Regions from separate parts of the Homo sapiens genome. Here region 2 is linked to region 1. Evidence: promoter capture Hi-C in 16 types of primary human blood cells and fetal thymus (Javierre and others, 2016). All regions are on one chromosome and are shown on one strand. Each heading gives the region's core, a stretch centred on a gene start or on the middle of the fragment in contact. The rest is flanking DNA. Distances are from core to core; before and after follow the strand shown. Region 1 holds the start of SLC4A3 (solute carrier family 4 member 3). Region 2 holds the start of GMPPA (GDP-mannose pyrophosphorylase A).

What was found. Contacts are between HindIII fragments. The CHiCAGO score rates a contact against its expected background, and 5 or more counts as called.
Region 2: the fragment with the promoter of GMPPA here is called in contact with the fragment with the promoter of SLC4A3 in region 1 in 2 of 17 cell types (M0 macrophages and M2 macrophages); the score reaches 5.9 in M0 macrophages.

Annotation. Positions count from the first base shown.
Region 1 is chr2:219,621,611-219,628,905 of GRCh38, reverse strand. SLC4A3 (solute carrier family 4 member 3) reads right to left here and starts at 1,276. Exons shown (of 23, transcript NM_005070.4): 1 at 1,161-1,276; 2 at 863-1,006; 3 at 336-501. The coding sequence starts at 913. It overlaps LOC124908064 (a long non-coding RNA gene), which reads left to right and starts at 896. Exons shown (of 2, transcript XR_007088701.1): 1 at 896-966. RefSeq lists enhancers at 1-70, 71-773. The HindIII fragment of the contact is 16,254 bases long and covers 1-5,974 here.
Region 2 is chr2:219,494,679-219,501,746 of GRCh38, reverse strand. GMPPA (GDP-mannose pyrophosphorylase A) reads right to left here and starts at 2,856. Exons shown (of 13, transcript NM_013335.4): 1 at 2,809-2,856; 2 at 1,732-1,791; 3 at 1,529-1,626; 4 at 168-271. The coding sequence starts at 1,771. It overlaps SPEGNB (SPEG neighbor), which reads right to left and starts at 5,616. Exons shown (of 5, transcript NM_001286811.2): 1 at 5,530-5,616; 2 at 5,265-5,392; 3 at 4,631-4,938; 4 at 3,886-4,027; 5 at 3,460-3,696. The coding sequence starts at 5,392. The coding sequence ends at 3,558. All of the region lies in intron 1 of ASIC4-AS1 (ASIC4 antisense RNA 1), which reads left to right. RefSeq lists enhancers at 2,787-2,976, 2,981-3,798, 3,799-4,616, 4,617-5,434, 5,435-6,252 and 1 more and silencers at 3,807-3,886, 6,131-6,311. The HindIII fragment of the contact is 29,233 bases long and covers 1,030-7,068 here.

The sequences.
Region 1 (7,295 bases), core at 27-2,526:
ACAGCAAGGAGGGGAAAGGCGGAGTTGGACTAGCCGAGGTGGGACAAGGAGGGAGTGAGTGGGGACGAAGGGGAAGGGGAAGGTCACCGTGGAAGGGCCCAGGCCCAGCTCCCTAGATCTCCCCTGGTCTGGGGCCCACCTCCCCAGGCAGGCGGACAGGCGATGGGTGGGGGAGGCAGGATGACTGAACACGGCATGTGGCCCAGCACAGAGTCCAGCACAGTGTCCGGCACAGGATGGCACTGGGTGACCAAGCCGGAGGTGAGCGCGGTGATGGTGGCGATGAAGGTGATGGTGGCGAGGGCGGCCGCACTAGGGGTCCCCAGGCTACCCACACTCAAAGTCCCGCTCGCTGTAGCTGCGGCTGGGCTTCTCGGGGTCCCAGGCCGGGGGCTTGCTGATGAGGTCCCCAAACCTGCTCACAGCCAAGGTCTTGCCCAAGTCATCGTCCTCCTCCTCCACGTCTGGACTTAGAGGGGGCTCCTCCAAGGGCACCCGGACCTGCAGGCCCAGACGGCCTCTGCTAAGGACCCCTGACCCATGAAGGCCCCACACCCACCCCAACTCCAAGCCCTAGTTGGGGGAGCTCAGCAGGCTCTCACACCATCGGGCCCCCTCCCCTTGCTCCCAGGCCTGTGTCAGCATCCCAGAAACCACCCTCTCTGGGCTCCCAGAGCTTGTAAAGAGAGAGGGCTACGGATCTGGAAAATATCAAAAACCCCCCTCTTTCTCCGTAACCCCCAGCCCAGCTCATCCCTGGATCTGGGGGGTCCCGGGGTCGGCCAGAGGACTCCTCTGCCCACCCTAAGGTCCCTCCCCTCTCCTCCCCCATCTCTCCCCCGCCCCCGCGCGCGCCGATCACCTGGGGTAGGGGGGAGGCGCCCCCGGGCGGCGGGATCACTCCGTTGGCCATGGCCAGGTAGGCGGCTGGGGACGCTCTCGCTCACTAGGGGACCCGAGACCCAGGTGAGAAGGAGGGGCCACTGAGGGGGCCTAGCGGGGAGCCCTGGGGGAGGAGGGCGGGGTCAGGTTCCTTGCGCTGGCGCCCCCCACCCGGGAGCCGGATGCACGCTCCCGGCCCAAGCGCCCCTCCGAGGCCCAGCCACGCCCGGGACAGCCCGGGTCCCCCGCCCTGCCCGGCGTGCCCCGCCCCGCGGTACCTCGGGGCTCCGGAGCCTGCGAGGCCCAGGCGGGCCGCCGCGCCCCATGTCCCCCGCGCTCTCTCCCGAGCGCAGCCGCGACTGCCGTCCGGCCTCTCGCAGCGCAGAGCCGGGCTGGCCGGGCGGACGCAGGCGCCGGAGCCCGCAGCCCGCGGCTCCACCTCCTCGCGCTCCGCTCCGCACCTCCGCCGCCGCCGCCGCCGCCGCCGCCGCCGCCGGGCCGCACAATGGGAGCGGGCGGGCCGTGACTCACCCCGCCCCGGCCGGCGCGGCCCCCACGCGCGGGCCCCGCAGCACCCCACCTGCCCGTGCGCCCCTTCTCCAGGCGCCCCACGCATCGCTGGGGGCTGGGGCGCGGCCCGATATTCCCACAATCCCCCAGATTCGCTCCCCAACCCTGCTTTTAGCCTCCCCTCCCCTCCAGAGCCCAGGAAGCCACCCCCTCCGCAGACACAGGCCCCTCCAGTCTTGGGAACGGAGCTCACAGACCCCTGGAAGCACCCACCACCTCCCCTTTCATTTCTACCACAGCCTTGCCTCTCAAAGGCCTGGCTTCTGTCGCCTGGCACCACCCAACGTTTGACCTTGACACAGTACCTCCCCTCCTCCCGCCTCAGCTTCCCCAGCTGTAGCGAGAGGGGCCTGCAATAGGGGTGTTCCAAAGTTCTATGCAACTCTAAGACTGTGTGGCTCCGTTTCCACATTTCCTCTCCCTTCTCCCCCTATCCCTGAGGTCACATCTCATTTTCCAAGGGCAAAAGGTCTTTCGAAGGAGCCACTGGACCCCAATCGGCCCCTATCCCGAGATCAATGAAACTGGACTTCTACACAGTGCGATGCCATAACAGCCCTGTGACCTTGGTACTTCACCGCGTCTGACCCCTGGCCTCATCTAGATCTCAGCTCAACCCAAGGAAAGATTTTCTGTGTGCATAGCCTTCCAAGGGGAAGGGAGCTAGGATCTGTTGGACGCCCACATTGTCTTGTGTGTGCTCACAGTCCTGTGCTAGGTTGGCCCTCTCCAGACTGGCTGCCTCGTCTCAGGCATAATAATAAGAGGAGCTGTTATGATTCCCATTTGGTCGGCAGAGGACAGTGGAGACTCAGGGAGGCTCGTTACCTGCCATGGTCACAGCTGGAAAGCAGGCTGCCGACAGGTTTGGGCATCATTATCCATGTATTGAAGTGACTCTCCAAGCCACAAACAAAATTTTTAACTGAAAGAGATGAACTGTCCTCCTAAGTCTCACATGGTGAGTCCCAAGGTGGGAATTCCTAGGGTGGGAATCAGCTATGCCTAGGCAGAGCACAGCTGTGCCCCAAAACTCAGAATGGGAGACCCAGCTGTTGGGAGTTGAGTAGTGTCCCCCAAAATTTATACGTTGAAGTCCTAACCCCTGGTACATCAGAGTGTGCCCTTATTTGGCAATAACGTTCTTGCAGATGTTAAGATAAGGGTGGACTCATCCATTATGACTGGTGTTCCAGTGAAAAGGGGAAATTGGCCAGGTGCGGTGGCTCACACCTGTAATCCCAGCACTTTGGGAGGCCAAGGCGGGTGGATCACGTGAGATCAGGAGTTCGAGACCAGCCTGGCCAACATGGTAAAACCCTGTCTCTACTAAGAATTAGCTGGGCGTGGTGGCACACGCCTGTAATCCCAGCTACTCAGGAGGCTGAGGCAGGAGAATTGCTTGAACCCAGGAGGCAGAGGTTGCAGTGAGCAGGGATCGTGCCAGTGCACTCCAGCCTGGGTGACAGAGCAAGACTCCATCTCAAAAAAAAAAAATATATGTATATATATATATGGGGGAAATTTGGACAAAGAGACGTGCATTCAGAGAACGCTTTGTGAAGACTGGAGTTATGCTGCCACAAGCCAAGGAACTACCAAAGCTAGGAGAGAGGCCTGGAACAGATCCTTCCCTAGTCCCTTCAGAGAGAGCCTAGCCCTGCAGACACCTCGATGTCTGGCTTCTAGCCTCCAGATCTGTAAGACAGTAGATTTCCATTGTTTAAGCCACTGGGTTTATGATACTGTGTTACAGTAGCCCTAGCAAACCAGAGCTATCCCAATTCTTTATTCCTCTGAGCCAGGCAATGTGGTTCCAAGTCCCTACCTTGAATTTTGTTTTGGTAGGGCCTTCACGTCCTTAGAGACACTCAAGAGCCTTGGAACCTTTCCTGGTCGGCATTGCACAGGGGCTCTGGTCTTCAATCCACCTCGACATTGTGTTCCCAGCCCCGCTCCTCTAGTCTGTAAAGTCAGACAGCAGTTACTTTAATACTGAGACAGCCTGAGAAGGGTCTTGCCAACCAGGGACCCCTGGTGTACCAGGCCATGTACATCCTGCACACCAAGATGCCATAAGGGTGTCACAGGACTTGTCCCTCTGAGGTTCCATCCACCCCAGAGAGGATGCTGAGCACAGGCCCTCAACTTTTGGTAGCCCCAGACCCCCATTCTTTCAGTTGGAGACCCGCACCCCACCCAGAGTCTGAGGCTTCGTTCTCTACCCTTACAGACCTTCCTCTCTCCTCCACCCCTCTGAGATGATGGAGTAAAATCTCCCCTTGAAGAGCCTTTAGACACCCATGTTTATCTCTTTCTTTCCAGGCTGGGGGGAGTAAGATGATGCTGACACCCACCAACTCATCCTATTAGACATAAACGCATGCTTTCATTAGGCCCGCTCTCGTCTTTGACATCCTGCCTGCGGCGCACCTGTAATTGTCAGTCCCCTACAGTGTGTTCCCGATGGGGTCTTCATTTCTGTGACAAAAGAGCACTCCTTGCATGCACAAAGGATGGCCACTCTGGGTATGTGTCAGCTTCTAGCTTACAGCCTGTAGACACTGAAATGGTGACAGGAAAGGTGACAGCAAAGGCTGAAGCCAGCGACAGGCCAGCTTAGAGCAGTAGCCAACTGTCACACCCTTCCTCACAGTCCAGTCTCACAGGAATGTCCCCACCCTGCATGCTGGCAGCATAGGACACTTGTCTGCACATGCAGCAGCACCACAGCCTGTCCCTTAGGTCCGAAGGAGCAGGAGCCATCCCGCCACACCACCCAGATTTGGAGGCAAAGCACACCGTTCTCTGGGCTCCCCATGAATGGGCCAGAAGCCCTCGGGTGGATTCCTCTGATTCTGTTCCCTGAAATCACTCTGCGGGTCCAGCGTGCTGGGAACTAGACCAGTATGGCAGATATCTGTCATCTGTGGCCACCCAGATCTTTGAAAACCCACTTTTACATTTTGGTCATTTCTCATAAGTCTTCTCTTGCCAAGATAGAAGCCAGAAAACCATTGCAGCCAGGGCACAGATACTGACCTCGGTTCCACCAGTCAGACTCACCTGTGCAAGACCTGAATTTAGAAGTGAGCATTGTGCACAGGAGACTCAGACTTCTGCAGGCATGGAAGGCAGAGAAGTTCTCATGTTATAGCTGGTCATTAAGTCCTTGCTCTCTATTCCTCCCGAGAATACCCTCTAATCCTCATTATTTTTTAGTAAATTCCCTTCCAGCTTAAAGTGGCTGTTATTTCCAACTAGTCATCCTGACTGCTAGAATCAGGGGAATGGGCTCTAAGTCTAGGTCATGGGATGAGCAGGCACCAGACATTAGTGATGCCAACATCAAGGAGCTGGCAGAGAGGATGTGAGGGAATGGCCCTCCTGTTAACAGGCCTGGGTAGCCCCTGCCTGTCTTATGATTACTGTGTCATTCGCCATCATCTCCATCCAGTGCTCTTAAGGATAACAACAATGATAACTTCATTATTTTAAATGCAGGTAGTGCTTTCCAGCTTACAAGCCACTTTAATATTCATATTCTCATTGGTTCCTCACAACAACCCTCTGTGGTAGAGCATCTTAACCCCATTTGACAAGTGAGAAAAATGAGGCTTGGTAAGTTTAATTGGCTTGCCCAAGGTCTAAGGCTCATAGGCAACATGGCCAGAAGCAGATGCAAGGGCTTCTGGCTTTATGTCCTATATTTATCCTCATATATCACATACCACAGTACCTCCCCGCACCATGTCTTTTTTTTTTTTTTTTTTTTTTTTGAGACAGAGTCTCGCTCTGTCACCCAGGCTGGAGTGCAATGGCACAATCTTGGCTCACTGCAACCTCTGCCTCCCGGGCTCAAGCGATTCTCCTGCTTCAGCCTCCCAAGTATCTGGGACTATAGACGGGCACCACACCCAGATAATTTTTGCAATTTTAGTAGAGATGGGGTTTCACCATGTTGGCCAGGCTGGTCTCGAGCTCCTGACCTCAAGTGATCCACCCATTTCGACCTCTCAGAGTGCTGTGATTACAGGCATGAGCCACCATGCCCAGCCTCCCCCACCATGTCTTGATGCCCTCCCACAACTGTTAGACCTTCCATGCCATGGGCACAAACTGAAATAGACCACTAACTTCCCAGATCGACTTTTCAAGGAGACTGCATCTTTGTGACTAGCGTCTGTATAGGGGAATAGTTAAATGTGAGACCTCTAGAGCCAAGCCGCCTGAGTTCATAGCACAGTTCTGCCACTTGACAGTTGTGTGACTTTGATCAAGTTATTTGCCCTCTCTGGGTCTCAGATTGCCTATCTGTAAAATGGCAATAATAACAGGGTTGTTGAGAGGATGAAATGAGTTCATTTGTATAAAAGGGTGACTGGCCTATAGTAAGTGCTCAACACTGTTAGCTAGTTTCAATACTACTACAAATCTAAGAGACAAAAATACCAAAAAGTCCTCAAATAACTTGCACTGTGAAAAAATGGTGAAATGTACACACGTAAAATAAGCAAAAGCTTGTCCTTACCAGAGCAATAATTCTAAGAGCCATATTAAATATGACAATTGCAAACTCTAAGAAGGTGGGGACATCCAGAATGACTTTTATCCCCACCAGGGTAGATTGTGACACTCTTTGGTCATGGACCAATCTTTGCCTTGGAAAACCTAACTTGGCAGGCTGGAGAGTTTCTGGAATAGAGCAGGGTATGGGTTGAGCTAGCCCCAGTTTCACTTAGACTCTTGCCAAAAGTATCTCCCCACTCCCCACAGCAGAGCACCCAGTGCCATTTGCTGCTGACTGGCCTGGTGGTGAGTAAGATCTTATTTTTACACAAGAGATAACATGGCATTGAGAAAGAGCTCAGACTCTGGAGTTAGAGATGCTATATGTAAAATGCCAGTTGAATGCTTGGCACAAAATAGGTGCTCAATAAATGACATTCTTATTATTTACTATCGTTGTTACTCTGCGGTGGTTTATCCCATCATAATTCATGGGTTGCTTGGTAAATTTGGACTCAACTTTGAAATAAATCCAATCTCAGGACAGCACCAATGTCCCTGAAGTTTCTCCCACCCCTGCAGAATCCACCTTCCAGCTCCCGTCTTTACTGATGTATTTGGCTAACATAGAATTTTGAGATACAGATCTATGTCCTTGCATGCTCCTCTTCTGCCCCTACCCAAGCAGGTAACCTGCTTCGAGTTTTGTTATTTGGGGCGAATGGGTAGGACAGAAAGCAGAAATCGCCTACGAGCCCTTCTGCCTTTTGTTCTTCCAGAGACAATGCTTTAGGGAACCAAGGGAGGTTTGTGAAGGAAGAAAGAGGAAGAGGGTTAGCAAGAGAGACAGTGTCTTGGCTGGAAGATGGGGAAGGAGTGGAGGAGCAGACCCTTTGACCTTCCCCATCAGCAAAGCAGGAGGGTCCCCAAGATGCAGAGAGGGGAGAAAGTGAAGTCAGTGAGTCCTGCTAACCCTGTGGGATGGGGGCTTGAAATAAAATCAGGCTGTTTTGCCAGTGTTATGAAGTAACATTTCACGCACCCAGTGTGTAAACTGAAGCTCACACACTCACTCAGAACTCCATGCCAGGTTGCGTATATATTGGTGAAAAAATCCTGGTCCCTGTTCTTGGGTACCTTAAAGACAACAAACAAGCAAACACAACTTATAATTAAAAAACATGGCAAAGGCCATGAAGGGAAAGGACAGTTACAGTGAACATTCAGGAAGTAGGATTAGGGTCATCCTCTGTAAGAAGGTGACAAGGAGGAAAAACCTGAAGGGAACGAAAGAACTGGCCATGCCATGAAGGGTGAGTTGGAGAAGTGGGGAG
Region 2 (7,068 bases), core at 1,607-4,106, 130 kb after region 1:
AAGGCCCACAGAGAAACTCTATATACTCAGAGATTCATTGATGTCCAAACAAGAATCCTTCTAGTAGGCGAGGATGAACTCCAGCAAATGCTGACTCAACCCACTTCCAAGAACTCAGAGGCCTAGGGCATCCCCACCCCCCCATATACGAGTGTGTGCACAAACACCTGACTGGAAGGTTAAACTCCTGCTGGGCGGCTTCTAGGAACTGGGTGAGGGGCTCATCAGGTTGGTAGAAGCCAATGAGCAGAATCTCCTGCATTCCAGGGACCTGAGGACAAGGGAAGAGGCTGGGATGAAGAATATCTAATAGGAGGGGATGTTGGGGAAATCCTTGGTGCTGGCCCAAAGTCCAGAAACCAGTTTCAGTCTCAGCTGTGGGGCCCCAGGGCACTCACCACTCTGGGCTATTTTCTCCTCTGGACAATGAGGAATTTGGAGGAAGTCGGAGGCCTGATCTTTTTTCGTTTTGTTTTATTTTTGTGAAAAAGGGTCTCGCTCTGTTGCCCAGGCTGGAGTGCAGTGGCATGATTTTGGCTCACTGCAGCCTCCACGTCCTGGGCTCAAGCGATCCTCCCACCTCAGCCTCCTGAGTATTGAAGACTACAGCCATGTCACCACCTGCCTCAGCCTCTAGAGCAGCTAGGACTACAGCCAGGCCATCACATCTAGCTAATTTTTAAACTTTTTGTAGAGAAGGGGTCTCTTGATGTTGCCAAAGCTAGGCTAGAACTCCTGGCCTCAAGCGATCCTCCTGACTCGGCCTCAAAAAGCGTTGGGATTACAGACATGAGCTACCATGCCAGGCCTGATCTTTCAATCAATTATTACCCCCACCAACCTGAACTGGGACTCACTCTAAGAAAGACTTTGCCTACCAAGCTGCATTAATCCATTTCCACCCCGCCCCCTCCCCCCCGGCCATTTTTATTATCTGTCAGCCTAAGCTTGAGATCAGCATGAGGTAAGGGTACCATTTATCAAGGGTCTGCGTTGTACTAGGCATTTTACAAATATCATTTCTAAGCTTCACCACCCAACAAGGTAGGTCTAATCACCCCCATTTTACACATAAGGAAACTGAGTGTCAGAGAGGGTGTGTTATTTGTTGCAGACCTCACAGCAGGCAGAGACTGAATTCAAACCAAAACCTTGCCTGGCTCAATACGAAAAGCAATAAAGAAATGAGCAACAATGTGATCAAGGATATGAATTTGTGCTTGGTTATCATTAAGAGTCTCCATGCTACGGCTTTACATTGTCTCCAAGATCCTTGCCTGATCTCACATTCCACACTTTAAAAATAGGAGTGAAATCTGAGCAGGAAGAGGCCAGATGAGAAACTAGATTAGGGGAAGACAGCAGGGCAGCTGCACAGCATAACTTGAGGGGGCGCCATTCACATTGTCATCTGTGAATGATGGTCCTTGGAGTTATGCCTGGTGGGAAGAGTTCATGGTTGGGAAAGGGGGAAACAGCATGAAGATAAGCAGGAAGTGAGGTGAGAGAGGGGAGCCCCTGAGGTTACCTGGGCACAGGCTTCAATATGGTGTTGGATCATAGGGACCCCTGCCACAGGAAACAATGGTTTGGGCACCTCAAAAGACAAAGGTCTGAAGCGAGTTCCTGGGAGAGGAGAGAGGAGAACATTTCGGCCTCCTGCCTTCCTCTGCCCCCATCCCGCCTACCACTCCAGCCCAACCTCCTCCCCCCATTCCCCTGGCACCTCACCCTTTTGAGGGCCTCCAATCAGGATCACCGCTTTGAGCATAATGGTGACTGCTACCTAAACTTCAAATTCCAACAGAGAAATCAAGCTCAGATCTCCTACCCCAACCAAGCCCCAAAACCCAAATAGCAACACTTAGCCCTCTCCCAAGATGTAAACCCAAAGCTCAATATAGTCTCTGCCTGGACCCAACACCTCACAAATCCCACACATCTCAAATCCCAGCAGAGAAATCAAGCTCAGATCTCACACCCCAACCAAACCCCAAACCCCAAATAGCAGCACTTAGCCCTCCCCCAAGATGTAAACCCAAAGCTCAATATAGTCCCTGCCTGGACAGAACCTCACAAATCCCACACATCTCAAATCCCAACCCAGATTCCAGTCGGCCTTCAAACCTCACAGTGATTCCTCCCAAATTCTGAAATTCACACCCCACAATTTGATCTCTAAAAGACTTCCCTCTGGCCATGAACAAATTCTGCAAATTCAGAAACCTGGCAGAGACTCCCTTCTCAGACCCAAACCTCAAAATACTGAAGCCTCAAATTCCCAAAGTGTTGCGTCTTCATTCTAGATATTAAGCCCTGAACCCCAATAGTGAACCCTGAATATTGGACAGCAAACCCTGAGTGAGCCTCAGATATTTAACTTAAATCCTGAACGTAATCCCCAAGTACTGAACTAACACTGATCTGAATTTGAAGAACCCCTAATCCCAGCAAAAATCCTCTATATGCTAAACATGAATCCTAAAACTAACCTCTGTATGTTGAACCCCAAATCAAAAGACAGGTTCCCTTGGCATCTCAAACACTGAACCTATTGACCCCCCTCCAGTCCTAATACGGACGACTGGGTCTAAATCTCTGGATTCGGAGGATTGATTGATTGCTGACCCTCTGAACCCCACAACTGACTCTGTCCAATAAACCCTGGCCTCTCATTGCCAGGGATTGTGGGACCAACACAGGGGCGGGCGCACCGAGGGCCAGCCAGGACCTCGGAGCCCGCTCTCCGTCTAGAGGGTGTCCCCTGCCCCTTACCCCTGCCGCCACCCCTCCACCAGCTCCCTTTACCACTAGCTCCCTTCACTCCAGCTCTGCCGCCCGCTACTGCAAGCTCCTTCCGCGCACGTGTCTTCTCGCAAGTCGCGAGAACTCATTCGCAGGGTCTGCCGGGAATTGTAGTCTGACCCTTTACCCGCTTTCTAACTTTATGGGAGAGGAAAGAGGTGCTGAAGTCCAGGGGTGTGACCAAGGGATCGCGGGGCGGGGTTAAATGCGAAGAAGGGTGGGGCCTGAGAAGCCCAGCCTGGAACTTAAGACTGGGACCCGAGCTGTTGGGGAATCGGCCTCGGGGCAGCAGCCGAAGTGAGGAACTGGGTCCCACAGGAAAACGGGACTAAGGACAGCAGGGGTGTGTGGCCAGCCCTGGAAGGGGCGGGGCCAGGGGCAAACAGCCACAAGGGGCTGGGGCTGGAGGCGCTCAAAAGCGGAGAAGGCGGAGTCCCAGGCCCAGCCGGCGGTACCGCTGGGAAGTGAGGGCGCCTTGGACGGCGAGGGCAACTCTTATCAGTTTGACTGTCTGAAATGCAGCACGGCGCTAGGCGCTCTCCAGACCTCCCTGTGACTCCAACAGGCTGTGACCTTGGCGTGGGGGTCTGGAATACGTGTGGGCGCTGGTGCGGGGGAGAGGGAATGGCGACGCGGAAGAGCAGGACAGACGCGGAGGGTCAGAGAGCAGCTTTATTAAGCAAGCTGGTGGAGGGCTGTGGGTCCCACCACCCCCGGGCTCGGCGCCAGGGCGGAAGGTCCGGGGGTGCCGTTCAGGCCACGTCGACGCGAGCGAAGCTCTGGTCCATGCCCAGGCTGTTCTCCACGTACACCTCGTACTTGCCGCTGTCCTGAGGCGTGGCCCGGCGAATGGTCAGCGTCGTGGTGGTGCTGCCGATCTCGAAGAACACCCTGCGGAAGGGCGGCGGGGAGGAGGGCGGAGCCGTGGTCAGTACACGGGCGCACTGGGCGGGGCTCCTTAGCCAGCTCTGTTCCTCGCTGCCCAGTCCCCGCCCCCGTCACTCCAGCCAGATTTCTGGGCTCAGTCCCACCCAGGTTCCAGCCCCAGGCCCTGGCCGTGCCGCAGGTCCCGGCCCTCGCCTGTCATCCTCCTCGATGTCCTCCCCGTCCTTGGTCCAGCCTACGTCGGGCGCAGGCTCTCCCAGGATCTCCGCAGTCAGCGTCACGGTGGTGCCTTTGCGCGCCTTAGTGTTGTCGGGTCCCTTTTGAATCTTCGTCGGGACTAGCGGAAGGAAAGGGGAGCGAAACCCCGTGAAGGACCCGGAGATGAGGCAGGGCATCACCTCACCGGCTAATACCCGGCACTAAATACAGATGCATTTAAACTCGCAGTGTGACGTTGAGCAAATCATTAGCCTCTCTGGTTTCATCTCCTTGGCTGTTAAAGGGACTTATCCCTGCCTCTCCTACTTCTCGGGGTCGAATAGAGGATCAAGAGAGATAAGGCGGGCGAAAGCCCCTGAATGTTCACACATCTCGCGGTGCCTCAGAGACCGCTCCGGGTAGTGGAAATTGCCAGAGTTGGGAGCCAGAAGACCCGGGTCCAACCCTGGCTCTGCCTCTGGCTTGCTGTGTGACCTTGGGGACCCGGAGCCGCGTGATGGAAGTCCACAGCTGACTGCTCAGCCCGGGTGGAGCTGGATCCCGAGGTAGGGAAGGACGCACTTGGCTGGCGCGGCGATGCGCCCCAGGCCGTGCCCAGAGCTGGGCTGGCGGGGACCCTGTAGCTAGGCCCAGAGGTAAACACGCGCAGCTGGACCGGGCTGCGGGCTCTGGCTGAGTGGTGCTGGTCTGCGCCCTGGCGCTGCGCCCGGGGCGCGCGTACCTTCCACGAGGATGCGCGCCGAGTCGGAGCACTGGCCGAAGGGGTTGGTGACGTTGATGCTGTACTGGCCCAGGTCTGCCAGCTCGCCGTCGCGCACCACCAGTGCCACCACGTCAGGGTCCTCGAAGACGTAGCGGTACTTGGGACCGTCACGTAGCTCCTTGCCGTCCTTACTCCAGCGGATGAATGGGTCCGGGAAAGCCGAAATGCGGCAAGTGAGCTTGGCCGCGCTGCCTTCGATCAGCACCACGTCCTTCAGCGGCTCCAGCACCCGCGGCGGCCCCTTCTCGCGCAGCTCCTTCCGGGACCTACCCGCGGGCCGAGTCAGGGCCCAGAGTTCCTAAGACAGGCCCGGCCACAGCCCTTACCGCGAGCGCACCATCTCCTACCTGCCCCCTGGACCGGCCAGACCCCTAAACGTGTGGCTTGGTAGGGAAGAGGACTGCTCCTGAACTGCTGCCCTGATAGGATGATGCATTCCTCCCGGCCACTCCCCCATACCTCAGTAACGACCCTCCCCTGAGACCACTCATTCTAAAGGCTCCTGACGCTGCTCAGCGCTTACTCAAACCCTACTCAAGAGTGCGCTCTCTGCAGCTCCCTTCCTCCACAGGGCTCCGGGGTTCCCTCTCACCTGTGGCCCCGGTAAGAGGCCTGGATACGAATGGCCGCACTCTGGACCTGTGGGTCATTGATGTCCAGGGTACATCCAGGAGCTGGGGCCACAGCCACTGGCTTTTTGGCAGGAGCTGCTTTAGACATCTGGGGAGTGGGCGACAAATATGGGGGTCCAGGTTGAGACAGAGGCTCCCACCTTCAGCCCTTTTCCTCCCTGGTCAGAACATTCAGGGAGATGGAGGAATGGGGGTGTCTGCGGCTTCTCTGAGGATCAGACTCACCGTGGAGGGGTTGACCTAGGGACTTGAGTCGACTGGCTGGATTGCAGGCAGCACAGAGCCCTTCTGGATGGCACAGTAGGGGTGCAGGCAGGTGCTCAGCCCTGGGCCCGGTTTTATACATCGCTCCCCTCCTTGCCTTGTTTGGCGTGGTTGCCCCAAGCCCCCCGGGGCCCCATCCGCCTCCCTCTGACTCAGGCAGGCTCTTTATTTAGCCTGTGGATGCCTGGGATGCTGGCTCAGCCGCTGGGCTAGGCCCGTGGGGAGAAACCCGAGCAGCTCTGAGGTGCACCTTGCGTCAGCACCTGGACAGCTGGACAGCTGGATGCTGCCCTGTCCCCTCCCAGGGCAGGGGGTATCCATCCCACTCCCAGGAGGACCAGATTCAGCCCCTAGCTGACAAGAGATCCAGCTTCCTGCTGGGGCAGCTTTTCAATCAGGTTGGGCTCTGGATAGTCAGACAACACACCCTGTTGGTTAAGGGGTTTGAGTGTTTCTGGGGTTTCCCTGAATACAGCCAGAGTAGCATCGGACTTGGTCCTCAGGGCCCCTACAGCTAACGGCAACAGGGCCACGTGGCTGTCAAGACCAATCCAGAAGCTCCTTACTCTTCCCCTACCCCCAACCCCAGGAGTCCAGGGTTGTCACTTCCACACTGTGCCCCCTGGCGGTAAACTGAGATAAACCGGGAGGGGACGGGAAAGATTTTTGAGAATAGCAGCCCCTCCATGCCTTCCCCATCCCCACTCACTCCCCTCGATGTCACATGGTGGGGGCTGTTTAGACTGCACTGTCCTTGGAGATTAGCACCACTACTGGCCCCAACCCTAGGTCTGCCCAATTCCTTTTTGGGGGCATAAATTGGTGCATAGGGGCATCAGACCACCTGGGGTGAAGGGGTTCAGTTAACCCCTCTGGGGATTGCCTGGAGGCCAGTCTGCCCAGGCCGGGCACCGGGCAGAAGCATTGCTTCCATTCATTGGAACTACCCGCCCTAGTGTGGGGGCACTGTCACGTTTTGATCAGAGCAATTTTGACATAGCTCTGCTGACATAAATTACCTTTGCTCCTCCGGGTTTGGAACAAGCAGTTCACATGCCATTTCCAATGGAGATGGGAAGGGAGCTCAAGATCAGAGCGGGGACGGGAGAGGAATTTTACCATTTATCAAGATATGAGTTCAGGCACCTCATTTTTATACAAAACACTTGCAGTGTGTAGGGGATTGGAGATTCTTACAGGCAAACTGTATATCTTCATCGCTAAAATGACAGGTAGGCAAGGTGTCGTTCTGGTCCCTTCCAGCTGGCTTTAACATCCTGTTATTTTATGATGATGGGGCTTGCCTCTTCCCTGGGGTCCTGAGAAGCTAGAGAGGCTGGGCTGGGCTGGGCAAAAGGGTTGTCTGGGCTGGAGCCAAGGGGCCCTCAACCTCCATCAGCAACACAGCAGTGACAACTCTGTCTACCCTGGTCAGAGGCTTTGTTCCTTTTACTTTGCCAAGAACAGAATTTTGAAGGTGGGGATGAGGGAAACATTTCC